Linked DNA regions of Homo sapiens: region 2 is linked to region 1. The links are contacts of gene promoters, found by promoter capture Hi-C in human tissues and cell types (Jung and others, 2019). All regions are on one chromosome and are shown on one strand. Each heading gives the region's core, a stretch centred on a gene start or on the middle of the fragment in contact. The rest is flanking DNA. Distances are from core to core; before and after follow the strand shown. Region 1 holds the start of SLC10A4 (solute carrier family 10 member 4). Region 2 overlaps FRYL (FRY like transcription coactivator).

Region 1 (6,687 bases), core at 3,144-5,643:
GAGGCAGGAGAATCGCTTGAACCCGGGAGGCGGAGGTTGCAGTGAGCCAAGATCATGACACTGTACTCCAGCCTGGGCAACAGAAGGAGACCTGTCTCAAGAAAAAAGAAAAGACAACAAAAAGGAATGCAAAAATCCTCCATAATCCAATATATTTTGGCCCAGTCTTTTTGAATGCAACTATATAAATACTTTTAAAGAAACTGGGGCCAAGAGCCACCCTGCAGTCTGCTATGACCATGCCTACATGCCTATGAATAGCCACTGCACTCCAGCCTGGACAATGTAACATCTCTAAAAAAATTTTTTCTAACAAAATACAAAAGAAAGAAATCAACATAAAACGGTACATAACTTGCTTTTTTCACATAAAAATATAACATGAAAATTTAAAATAGTTGCATAGTATTTATTCTATTATGTAAATAAAAAACAATTTACTCAACCAGTTGCATATTGTTGGATACTTAGGTTGTTTCTAATTTTTCTTCTACCAGTCTTATACGTTGTACTTAAATTGTCTGCAAGTCAGATGATTTCTGTAAATAGGCAAAATACATAATTTATAATAAAGTATTTTTATTATTAAACTGAAAAAGTTCTATTTCACTAGTAGTTAAATAAGCACAAAATATGAAACTTTTAAAACAGCATATTGACAAAGATTCTTAAGGTAGCAGTACTTACTTCTGGAAATGCAATGGAAGAAGCCCTCAAACACCTTTGAGGGTGCTGAGGTACTGAATACAACTTCTGTGTATGCTTATTGCTTTTCTGCCTACTCAACATCCATTTTTCCTCTTTCTGTTAACAGCACCCACTATTCCTCTGAGGAATCCCTTCCCCAAATTTGAGTTGATGTGTCTTGAGTGGGGATGAGACCACTCCCTTGCTTGAGTGAAAGCATTCCATCCTATGGCCACAATGATTGGTTGAAGGATGGGTACACTTCTCTTGCCTATTTTCTATTTAATTTTTAAATTTAAATGCTTCTACTCTTAAAAAGCCTCCTAGCTTCCTTTCAAGAAAAGTGGCCAAAACAAACATTAGTGTACAATAGTTCTCCCTTATTAATCCCAAGTTAACCCCAGGACTTTTATGAGAACTCCTGGAAGTAGGTGCTCTCTTTCCATGATTGTTTCTATGGTAGGATATATCCAAATTGATTGTATCCTTGCCACTGTAACATAATAGCATATATCTGAATCTTTTCCAGTACTGAAAAATGGCATCTAATTGCTTCAATTTAATTGCTCTGGATACTAGTGAATGTGACTATTTTCATAAACATGTTGGCTGCTTGCATCTCTTTTGTGATCTTGTGTCTATTCATGTCATTTGCCTCTTTTCCTATAAAATAACACAATAAAACTTATAAATTAATCATAAATTTTCTCTTAATTTCTTAAATGATGTTTTTACTATAACAAAGTTGAAAGTTTTTATGTATCCATATCTACTGAGCTCCCCATTATGATTTCTTCTGTTACTTTTTTGCTTAGAAAAATTTTCCATATCCAAAGATGAGATAAACACTTGCCAATCTTTTTCTCTAGTATTTTGTTGCATTATTATTATTATAATAGTTAACCCTTTAATCTACTTGGAATTAGCTTTGGTATACACTGTGCCACAAAGCTCTAAATTTATTTTTCCCCAAATAGCTAGCTTAATTTCATCTTCCTTCCTTCCTTAATTTTTTTTTTTGACACGGTTTGCTGTCACCCATGCCTGAGTACAGTGGCATGGTCATGGCTCACTGCAGCCTTGCCCTCCTGCGCTCAAGCGATCCTCCCACCTCAGCCTCCCAAATAGCTGGTACCACAGGCATATGCCACCACAGGCATGCGCCACCATGTCTGGCCAATTTTTGTAGTTTTTGTAGAGACAGGGTTTCACCATGTTGTCCAGGGTGGTGTCAAGTTCCTGGGCTCAAGAGATTTGCCCACCTTGGCCTCCCATAGGCGTGAGCCCCATGCCTGGCCATATTTTCTAAGTACTATGTTATCTCTCCCTTTTACATATTGTTTCCCCCTTGGGAAAAGAATACTTCACTTCACCAGTGTCACCACACCAGTGTCATCACACCTGGAGAATGGGCTTAAACCTAATCCTGGGGTTTTCTCATACATAGTGAGGAAGATGAGAAAGAAGGGGAGGCCAGAGCACCTGTTTTCTTTACAATGACAATCACCCCATCAGCAGGAGTGACATCAGGTGTGTAGGTCCCAAGAATCCCCCAAGATTGCAGGTGCAACATGCCCCATGATTTACAATCGCAGCCCATCATCCCCTTCTTTTTTATTTTTTCAGATGGAGTCTCAGTCTGTCATCCAGGCTAGAGTGCAGTGTCACGATCTTGGCTCTCTGCAAACTCCACCTCCCAGGTTCAAGCAATTCTCCTGCCTCAGTCTCCTGTGTAGCTGGTACTACAGGCACACACCACCATACCCAACTAATTTTTGTCTTTTTAGTCCAGATGGGGTTTCACCATGTTGGCCAGGCTGGTCTCGAATTCCTGTCTTCAAGTGATCCACCTGTCTCAGCCTCCCAAATTGCTGGGATTGCAGACAAAAGCCATGATGCCAGGCCCCTTTCTGTTTTCAGTCTTCGCCCATTGCACAAGTTGCCGCCCAAGTCCCTCCCTAAACCCTGAGAGGAGGTAGTTGGATGAGTTGAGTTGGTCTGCCTCTAATTACTGCTTATTTAATGTGATTGTGAATTTTAATATCATTAACATGATGAGGGTTTCTGAGGCAAATAGGAGTGGTGCCTGCACAGTTGGCTTCAGCTGGATCCCTTGCCATTTGTGTTCTTGGCTTATCTCATTCTGTGGTTTCAAGACTGTGAAGGCTCAGCAGTGCCTTCCCTCCTTATCTTGTCTGTTTCTCCACACATCTTCCCTGGGTCTACTAATGTAACGGTTGGGTAGCATGGATCATTGTATATCTGAATATCTTTCTTTTTACCTACATAAGGTGACATGTCAACTTAAAATATTTTTGGTCACAACCCACTTCCTTTAAAGTTTAGCTCACTGAAGTTTTTTTTTCTGGGTTTAGTGTTTTGGAAAAGTGTAAGGGTACATTATCCTCCTAGATTCTTGCAAAAGCTCTGCCCTCGTGGAATTTACAGTCCAAAAGAGAAAAAATAAATTATTTGTGATGAAGAGTGCAATATGCTTTGCATTTGCAAAGTCTTACTTTTCATAGTCTCCATCATCTTCATGAGATTTGGGGAGGAGGAAAGGCTCAGCCCACCCTTGGGTAATAGAAGTCACTCTGTGCCAGGACAGGAGTTAGGGAAAAGTTCCCAGATAGAAGAATTCACTATATCTTGGCTCCTTGTGAAAGCAACCCTGGGCTAAGACTGAGCCTTGATTTCATTCTAGAAATTCCTGTTGGTTTTTACAACTCAACTGACTATCACTTTATGGTCACCCCCAGGGAGCTAGATGCCTCCTTAACAGGCCCCACCTGGTTGGTAAGCAGCGAAATTATTTTCCTTTCTACATGCCATCTAGTGACTGACTTAAAAGTTGTTGCATCTCCATTCCTAAGAGCTCTGCTTTTGAATTGTTTTGGGATAAACCTGTCTCAAGCAGGGAATCTCAGCACTTTATTTCTTTTCAGTCCTTTAATCCTAATGCCAGGGCCTTACTCATAAAGCTTCGTAAATCTGTGGCCACTGAAATATCCTCTCTCCACCTGCCAATAACTTCTTAAACACACATTTTTCATGGAAATTGTTATTAGCCAAGCTCTTCTCTGCCCTCTTTAGGGACACATCGCCGTGCAGATTCAGCCAGGTACTTGTGGGTTCGGTTGATAAGACTGAGAATTCCTCGTTCCTCAGTTTCCTCGTTTGTAAAAATCGAGCTTGTAAAAATGGTATCTATCTCACGGCTTTGCTGTAAGAATCGAATGAAATAATGCACACGCACTTGCACAAAACCCGCTATATTATTATTACATTCTACTTTAAGACTGAAAATCATGCAAAAAATTGTTTGCAAATTCAAGCCAGATATCGTGTCCTGCTTACTAGAGAATCGCTCATATTAAGTCAAGCACCCCTCTTAGGGCTGCAGGCTATAGGAACAGTTTCTGCCATGAGCGTGCATCGATGAGGTTATCCACCCGCCCCCTCCACTTTGTGTGTCTGGGTCTCCAGATTTCATTATAAAGAGGCAGAGCCCATCAGAGAACTTGATCGGCAGCCAGGAACGGTTTTTTCCTGCTCTGGTCCTTTGTCAGGTCTTTGTTCCGCCCCTGGCTACACTCGATAACAGAACCACTTACTGGCGATTCACAGGAGGGGACCGGGCGGCAGGGCGGGGCGGGGCCTGCGGGGCGCGGGGCCGCGGCGCGGAGCCGGCGCAGCGATTGGGTTCACCCGGGGGGCCGCGCTGCGCGGAGTGCCAGGCTGCGGGCGGCTGCAGACCTGGGAGCGGAGACCGGCCCGCCGCCCCCGACGCCGCCGAGCACGTCAGCGGCGCGCAGCCGGGGCTCGGAGACCGACGGGCAGAACGACGGGCGGCGACTGCGGCGACCGCGGGACGGCGAGAGGCACGCGGCGGGAGGGGACCGGAATCCGCAGCTCCGGCCGCGCCATGGACGGCAACGACAACGTGACCCTGCTCTTCGCCCCTCTGCTGCGGGACAACTACACCCTGGCGCCCAATGCCAGCAGCCTGGGCCCCGGCACGGACCTCGCCCTCGCCCCTGCCTCCAGCGCCGGCCCCGGCCCTGGGCTCAGCCTCGGGCCGGGTCCGAGCTTCGGCTTCAGCCCCGGCCCCACTCCGACCCCGGAGCCCACGACCAGCGGCCTCGCGGGCGGCGCGGCGAGCCACGGCCCTTCCCCGTTCCCTCGGCCCTGGGCGCCCCACGCGCTCCCGTTCTGGGACACGCCGCTGAACCACGGGCTGAACGTGTTCGTGGGCGCCGCCCTGTGCATCACCATGCTGGGCCTGGGCTGCACGGTGGACGTGAACCACTTCGGGGCGCACGTCCGTCGGCCCGTGGGCGCGCTGCTGGCAGCGCTCTGCCAGTTCGGCCTCCTGCCGCTGCTGGCCTTCCTGCTGGCCCTCGCCTTCAAGCTGGACGAGGTGGCCGCCGTGGCGGTGCTCCTGTGTGGCTGCTGTCCCGGCGGCAATCTCTCCAATCTTATGTCCCTGCTGGTTGACGGCGACATGAACCTCAGGTACGGATCTGTCTATTCCTTGGGCATCTGTCTCATCCCAGACGCGCGTTTACGGCCGTGGGCTCACGACGAAGGACAGAGGCAGTGGAGGGGTTGGAATTAGGCGTGGAGGAAGGAGGAGAAAAGGAGAGGAAGTTGATGACGCCCCGGCTTTAGAAGTCAAGGCCGACCTGCAGGTTGTGCTGCTAGGGGAGCAAGCTAGACGGCGAGGGAGCTGCTCCAAGGCTGGGATTCCATGCGCAGCGCGGCCCTTCAGCAGGGTCCCTCGCCGTCCTCCCCGAGCGTCGGGGTGGCAGCGCAGGTCGTTGTCCAGTGGAAGACAAAGAGAAGGGGGAGTCTGAACTAGAACTCGCCGGCAACGTAAAAGTAAAATAGGGCTACTGGCCCGTCAGAGAAAGTAATCTCACATAGAGTGCAGGATTGTTGAGTCCGACCAACAAGTAGCAGTCAGCAGCTTTACCATGGCTTACCTTGCAGGGGGCTTGCAAGGAAGAACGTTCCTTCCCCTCAGAATCATCCAGGCTCAATAGACTTTATAATGTCGAGGGCAGCAGTACCGAGACAGGGGGCTTGTTTTTCCTCCCTGCCTTGGGTTCATAATTCCATCGGTGTTAGACGTGCTGCTCTCTTGGCACTCTCCTCGGATGTAGGTTCTGCCCAGACTTCAACCCCGGGACTTGCAGTCTCCCCGTTCCACCTCTACTCAACATACAAGAAAAAGGTTAGCTGGCTGTTTGACTCAAAGCTCGTTCTGATTTCTGCACATTCCCTTTTCTGCAGCATCATCATGACCATCTCCTCCACGCTTCTGGCCCTCGTCTTGATGCCCCTGTGCCTGTGGATCTACAGCTGGGCTTGGATCAACACCCCTATCGTGCAGTTACTACCCCTAGGGACCGTGACCCTGACTCTCTGCAGCACTCTCATACCTATCGGGTTGGGCGTCTTCATTCGCTACAAATACAGCCGGGTGGCTGACTACATTGTGAAGGTAAGGCCCCCTCTTCCCTTTCCATACTAGCTTGGAGAGCCCTTGATCTCTGACCCACAGCAGAAATGTTAGGAAGTTTGGAGAAGGCGGAAAGGAAGAAAAGGACTTGGAAGTAGTTGCATGGATAAAATTTTTTTTAAAAAGTTTATGCTACAAAGATAACTTCCACTTTTGGGATTCCTAGAATGACAGCTTTAATTAAGACACAGCTTAATCAAAACCAGCATAAGAGAACTATCAGTACTCATTGGAAGGAAACAGATCATAGCAGGGTGGGGAAGATGACAGTGTAATTAAATGGCAACATATTTTCCACTAATTGTATATAATTAAACATAAAAGCAGATTAAATAAAATTACTTTAATAGAATTGGTGCAGTATTTTAGAAATGCATGGCTATCTTTTCAAAAATGGAACTCTAATTCTGAGAAACTCTGTAGTAGGTTCCTTTAACATTTTATTAAATTTTTAAAAGTAAGTTGATACTAATAGG
Region 2 (6,557 bases), core at 1,283-3,782, 50 kb after region 1:
GAACACCATGCTTTCTCACGCTTACAAGCCTTCATTCACACATTCTCCATTTCTTTGCATTTAACCTCCCCTCCCCAAACTGCCATAGATGCCTGTCTAGAATTACTTGTCTTTCAACACTCAGCTCAGATGTTGGTTCCTTTCTGAAACCACTCCTTTAGATAGATGCTACATACTCCCCTAGCACTTTTAATGTATTCCAGCCGAGTGTTGATTACTATGTTTAGTTGTTAAGCTAAACACTGTTGGGAAGCTAAGTTGTGGCGTTTCTTTTAGATGGGGAATGTATAGTCTGTTTCTCTAACAGACAGTAAGCTTTCTAACAGCAGGCCTTCTCCCCATCCCCACTTGGTTGTTCATAACAGCTATCATATTGTCTAACACTGGGTATGAGCTCAATCAATGTTTGTTAAATCAAAGAATGAATAAATAAACAAATGAAAATTCCTAGTAGAGTAACTTCATCAATTTCTGAGCATCTTACCTCAGATATATCAAAATGAAAATCTAAGGTCTTCCCAGGCAACTCCTTAGAAACATTATTAAAAATTTTAGTGAAGGATATTTCAGGAGAACCTGTATCTCCTCCATAGGTCTTGGGGATATCACTGGGTACGACAAGACTCGCAGAGCGTGACACCACCAGCTTTAATATGTTAAGGGCTTCCTTCCAGTAAGGACTCTGGTTTAAAAAATAATTGACACGTAAAAGTTACAAATGCACATTCAACTAAGAACAACAATTTACTGTACACCATAAAAATATTATTTCTACAAAAATACTTGTAAAAATTATTCATTTTGAAGATCCTTAATGAAAGGTTTGAGTTACAAAAGGAAAGAAAACACAAGTTATTATTTGTACTGTTAGATTTATCAGATACCATATGTGTAATAATGCTACCCAACTGAAATATCTTGCTTTTCTCCCAATAAGTGCTTTGTAATTATCATTAATTTGGACAGACTAATACAGTAACTTGGCAGTAGTGGTAAACAAAACATTTGTATATACGTCAGCTTTTAGCTGAATGAAGTTTATAGCTTTGAGACTCTAAAATTTAAGTATTTTAAGTCTTTGCAGATAAAAATTTTTTAACGAATACCTTCCTTTTTAGACATAAAAATATTAAAATACTAAAATACAGTTAAGTCTTTTTTTCTTGATGGCCCAGGCCCCAAATACTGAGAGTAGATACCATGCTAATGTGATGTTCTCAGGGATTACTGAGTTGTGTAGGGTGAGGTTTTTTTTTCTTCCCTACATATTTTGGCTATTTTAAAAAAATTTTTCTGCTTGTCTTAGTTTTGTATATTCCTACCAATGAAATCTAGGAATTATTTATGAGCTAGATGTATATGTAGAGAACAGTGAATGTTTGATAAAGACTTTATAATATCTTTCTTTTACCACCCACTGAAAAGGATACATAGAAAAAACTACTTCTTACTTATGGTACCAAAAATCACATCTCAACCTTGTATTATATTATACATATTCTTTCACAGCTGATATCTGAGGAAGGAAAAATAACCATTAAGACACCAAAAAAGGAAGTAAAAAATCTTTGGCAGAATTGGGTTATCCAATTGAGTTCATAACATCTTGCTATGAAGACACCTAAAACACAAAATACTTGATAATAAAAAGGTCTACATGATACTGTGACATTTTAAGAACAGCACTGTAAAAAGTAGTTTAAAGGCCGGGAGCAATGGCTCACGCCTGTAATCCCAGTACTTTGGGGGGCCAATGCAGGCAGACCACTTGAGGTCAGGAGTTTGACACCGGCCTGGCCAATGTGGTGAAACCCCATCTCTACTAAAAATACAAAAATCAGCTAGGCATGGTGGTATGTGCCTCTAATTCTAGCTACTTGGGAGGCTGAGGCAGGACAATCCTTGAACCCAGGAGGCGGAGGTTGCAGTGAGCCAAGATCGCACCTCTGCACTTCAGCCTGGGCAACAGAGACTCCATCTCAAAAAAAACAAAACAAAACAAAAAAAAGTTTATATTTAACAAAATCATGACTAAGTAGAAATAATCATCATATTTTTTCTGACAGAAATAATTACAATCTCTGGGCATCATGAAATGCTAAACTTTAGGGATGTTTTCATAAATTATATTGCTGGTTGTGTTTAAATGTAAAAGACTATCGATAATTCAATTCTGTGAAATATTTAGTTGTTTAATAAAGCACAAGCCAGCAGCTGTGATGAGCCATCAGCTAAATATGATCTTGATTCACACATTTATAAAGAAATCTGGAAAAAAAATTGAGTCAACATTTTAAAATCAGGAGATTTTACAGAAAAATGTAGATTTCCAGCTTCTCTTAAAGTGAGAAGTCTGCCACACTGGACCCATATTCTAACATGAAAACCACCAGAGGAAGCTAAGTTGTGTTTCTCCTTTGAGATGGGGAGTGTGCAGTTCACTTAGCCACAAATCTATGCTCCTTCTGGTTATCTGCTTGTCCACTGGCAAGTTGAGCTTGTGGTTCTGAACATAAGAAATGTACCTATGGTTCAGAAGGTAGTGAATTCAATGTGGTATATGTTTCTATGTGAAATATAGCAAATATTTTATAAGTTTTTTTTTTTTAAGGCTTAAGAAGAAAAGAGAAATGTGCTTTAGAAAGAGATATAACTGCTATCTGGTAAAGCCTCACTCACTGAAGGATAAGACACAAGATAAATAGGGCCACCAGAAAATCTCCCGTTTTTTTGATATCTGCAATCACTGATTTTCAAGGGAATGTAAGAGGTAATGTGGATTACATAACTGAATCACTGAAAACATTTTACTACAGTTTTATTACTTTCAGATATGAACTAGAATAAATTCCTTGCCAGCTAAGTATTTCCCATTCTAAGTTCTGCTCTAGTGAATGCAAACGTAACTGGAGTATAAACACAACATATTAATCTATTAAGGTTGTTAATGAGCTTGTTCTCTTTGGTGAGTTGTATCCATCCTACTGATCTGCTCAGCAATGCAAAGCTTTCTTAACTGGTAGCTCAAACCGACAGCTTAACTGAATTTCAAAGGTGAAATTCAGCAAAGACCAGGCCGACTTGTCATCATTTACATTTAAATCAAGTTTAATTTTCCACTTTCTAAATATCTGGCACTTTTTATCAGACACACAAAAAAATCTCTAAAATGCAAACTCTTCAAAGAGGTTTTCTGTTTCTAAAAGTAGTGTATGCCCACTAAGTAGAATCTCGTTAAAAAACAGAAAGGTACGAAGAAAGAAAGAACAATGAGGCCAGGCACGGTGGCTCACGCCTGTAATCCCAGCACTTTGGGAGGCTGAGGTGGGCAGATTACCTGAGGTCAGGAGTTCGAGACCAGCCTGGCCAACATGGTGAAACCTATCTCTACTAAAAATACAAAAATTAGCTGGGTGTGGTGGTACATGCCTGTAATCCCAGCTACTTAGGAGGCTGAGGCAGGAGACTCACTTGAATCCAGGAGGCAGAGGCTGCAGTGAGCCGAGACTGCGCCACTGCACTCCAGCCTGGGCAACAGAGCAAGACTCCTTCTCAAAACAAAAACAAAAACAACCAATGAGTCACAGTCCTAATTTCCAGAGTTTTGACTGCTGCAATGTGTATATGCATTCCTTCCTGTCATTACAGAACATTACAGAAATTGTTAATACGAAAAGTAGAAATCATACTAATTCTGATTCTGGTTTTTGTCACTTACATTGAGAACATTTTCCATACTGCAAATATCCTGAAAACACGATTTATGGTTGAACCACTTCCCCATTCTTCGACATTTAAGGCATTTCCAATATTGTGTGATTATAAATCATTTTTAGATGAAAAATGTTATATGTAAGTTTTGTGGTCACTCACCTGTACATATTTGCCAATAATCTTTATGATCTCCAGATTAAACTGCTTGGCTGGGGCTGCAGACAGGTCAATATGACTCAATAGACTATAAATAATCTGTAGTAATGATTGCTGCATACTGGACAATCCTTTCTCTAACAGCTAAAAATAATGTTAAAAGTAATATTAAAGTATACTTTAATCAGGTTGAATAAAAACTCAATATTTACATTTGACAGGTTGGAAAACATAGATTTAGCCTATGAGTTTATAGTTATGTGGATTAGAAATCTAGAGACTAATAAAGTGAAAGGCAGAGTCTATTACTGTTATTTTTCCTTGGTTCAGAAAGGAGAATTAGACGATAACTTTTCATCTAAATCATGGTGTTTTATTTCCTTAACTAATTTAGTAGGTATTACTTTATTATAAACTGACAAACATTTTTAGTGACTAGGAATCTCTTGCTTTTGACTTTCTCTTTGTGCCTATCTACTTAGTAATTTACTTTTCTGGGTATAAAGTTACTTCTTAGGCATCAAATAGATATTAACTTTTTGTGCTGTTCTAGGGCTACTTTATCATCCATTTTTTGCTGTCTCAAAATCATATTTTAGATAGGAAGCAAATGTATCATCAAACTAAAAACTTTTCCAGAAGAAATACTTTTGTATGCTGTAATTATTATTCTAGAAAAGATTTCTAAGCTAAAACCTAATTTTGTAGAAATAAAAATTATAACCATTCTCTAGGATCAGGACCACTAAAAACCCATTTTCCATTTTTAATTAGGTAAAGTGTATATTATTTTGAGTTTCATGTCACTTAAGGACAGTAAATAAGGATATAAACACTGGACATGGAAAAAAAACCCACCTTTATAAAAACTTCTTTTACACTTGATAGGAAGTAACTTATATTTTTATCTTAAAAAATTGTTAACTATGTTGACTGTCAGACAATTTGAATATCAGTTAATACCAGTGCTGCTTCTGCATATAAATCAACTTGATAAGGTGCCACAGAGTAGTTAAAATATATATATGTGTATATATATACACATACACACACACACACACACACACACACACATATATATATAGTAAATAAGAAAATATTTTTGGTAAATTTACCTCTGCAAGATAAGTCACAAGATTAAATGTTGTATCTGAGAAGGAGTCATGCAGGTATCTGCACACGACATTGATCCAGTTAGAACAGTCTCTGGAATACGTGTGTGTACTGTACAAACTCATCATGTGTGCCAGATTGACAAGTGTTGGGCATTTTTCTTCTGCACAAACCTAGAAAACAAATAAAATTATTTCATTCACCTAAAATAAAGACACAAGTTTAACTTGATTTTATGCTAAATGTATTCGCTTAATGAAATAATTTAGATGTATATTGGTTTTAATGCATTTTACTTCAATACGTTAGAAAAGTGAAACGAGAAAAAAAGCACAAGGCATTCTTCACAGAATAGTAAGAGCTAATACAGAAAGAGGATTAATGTCTTTGTGGGTACTAAATAGTACGGCCTTCTTCAGTCTGAAGATCTGTAAACTGTCTCTGGCAGAAACCATGTATGGTGTGAACTCGGGACATCATTTTGGAATTGCTTTGTCAAACCCAGGATGGATCAGTGCACAAGTGACTACACAGGCAGATATAACTAGGGAATTCTCAGGGAGGCTCCGAGCTGCTGTGACTGGGAGGAAATGCTTCAGCCTCCAGCTGTGCCCGGGGTATCTCAGTAGAGCAGTCAGTTGCAAACAGCCTCAACATGTGTGACAGTCAAAGGACATCACTGGGGCTCTGATGAAATCTGGAGTCCAGAATCTCCAATGGATGACAGTCTGCATGGTGGACCTCAAACTGCTCTTCCGGAAATCACCTAAAGCTCTAAGATCCTCGGCCAATCTTTTAAAGGCTACTCCAAAATGTACTGACTCTCATGTTTGTTTGATACAATATTAAAGAATCTGAACCAACTAATGTTTGGGGGGAATTTTACTGACTGAATGCACTTCTTAGTCTGTTTGTTCCCTGGGTTATTGGTGAGGATGTTCCCTGGCCTCTCCCAGGGGACACCTGAGCTATGCAGAACTGGAAAAAGGCCATGCTACTCTTACATACCAATCTGTCATAAAAGGCTAACCTCATTGTCATTTCTGCTTTTAGTTTTCCTTTTCCTTATTCTTCTATCTTATGGATGTTTTGTATGTATTTTTACAACTACCTACAGCATTTGGTAAAGAAACTGTCCTTTTAAATATATACATCTTCAACTTTCAAATGAATATCACTAATTTTGGTAATTCGGAAGATGTTTAATAGGCTTGGAGGGCCTCAAATTCATCATTTGGACATTATCATGGAACAAGCACAAAATATAAAGGTTATGCAAGGTCGTGCATAGACTATTAACACAGTAGTACCTGGGAAGTTATTTTATACAATCATTAAAACCAGCTGATTTCATGCAGTAGTGTTTTGCCCATAAAACAGACACCAGAAAGAAAAAGAAAAAATGGGTTGGTATCTCTTATTTGCATTTCAAAATATAATAATTTAACATATTATTAAAAATCGCATAATTTTATAACTTCTCAAGTTGTTAAATTCTTTAAAACATAAAAAACTTTCCTGAAGAATAAAACATTCTTAGAGAATTCTTACATTCTTAAATAATTTTTTTAAGG

The links. Contacts are between HindIII fragments. The study calls those that stand out against the background at their distance.
Region 2: a contact is called between a fragment that was not itself captured here and the fragment with the promoter of SLC10A4 in region 1, in 2 of the 25 tissues and cell types used here (IMR-90 fibroblasts and thymus).

What each region holds. Positions count from the first base shown.
Region 1 is chr4:48,478,950-48,485,636 of GRCh38, forward strand. It overlaps SLC10A4 (solute carrier family 10 member 4), which reads left to right and starts at 4,394. Exons shown (of 3, transcript NM_152679.4): 1 at 4,394-5,202; 2 at 5,983-6,193. The coding sequence starts at 4,613. RefSeq lists a cis regulatory region at 2,664-3,059 and silencers at 4,314-4,363, 4,444-4,573. The HindIII fragment of the contact is 6,923 bases long and covers 1-6,224 here.
Region 2 is chr4:48,530,672-48,537,228 of GRCh38, forward strand. It overlaps FRYL (FRY like transcription coactivator), which reads right to left. Exons shown (of 64, transcript NM_015030.2): 48 at 4,986-5,156; 49 at 3,874-4,014; 50 at 485-682. Among named protein-coding and RNA genes, the nearest start is that of ZAR1, 44 kb to the left of the region's middle. The HindIII fragment of the contact is 5,937 bases long and covers 1-5,501 here.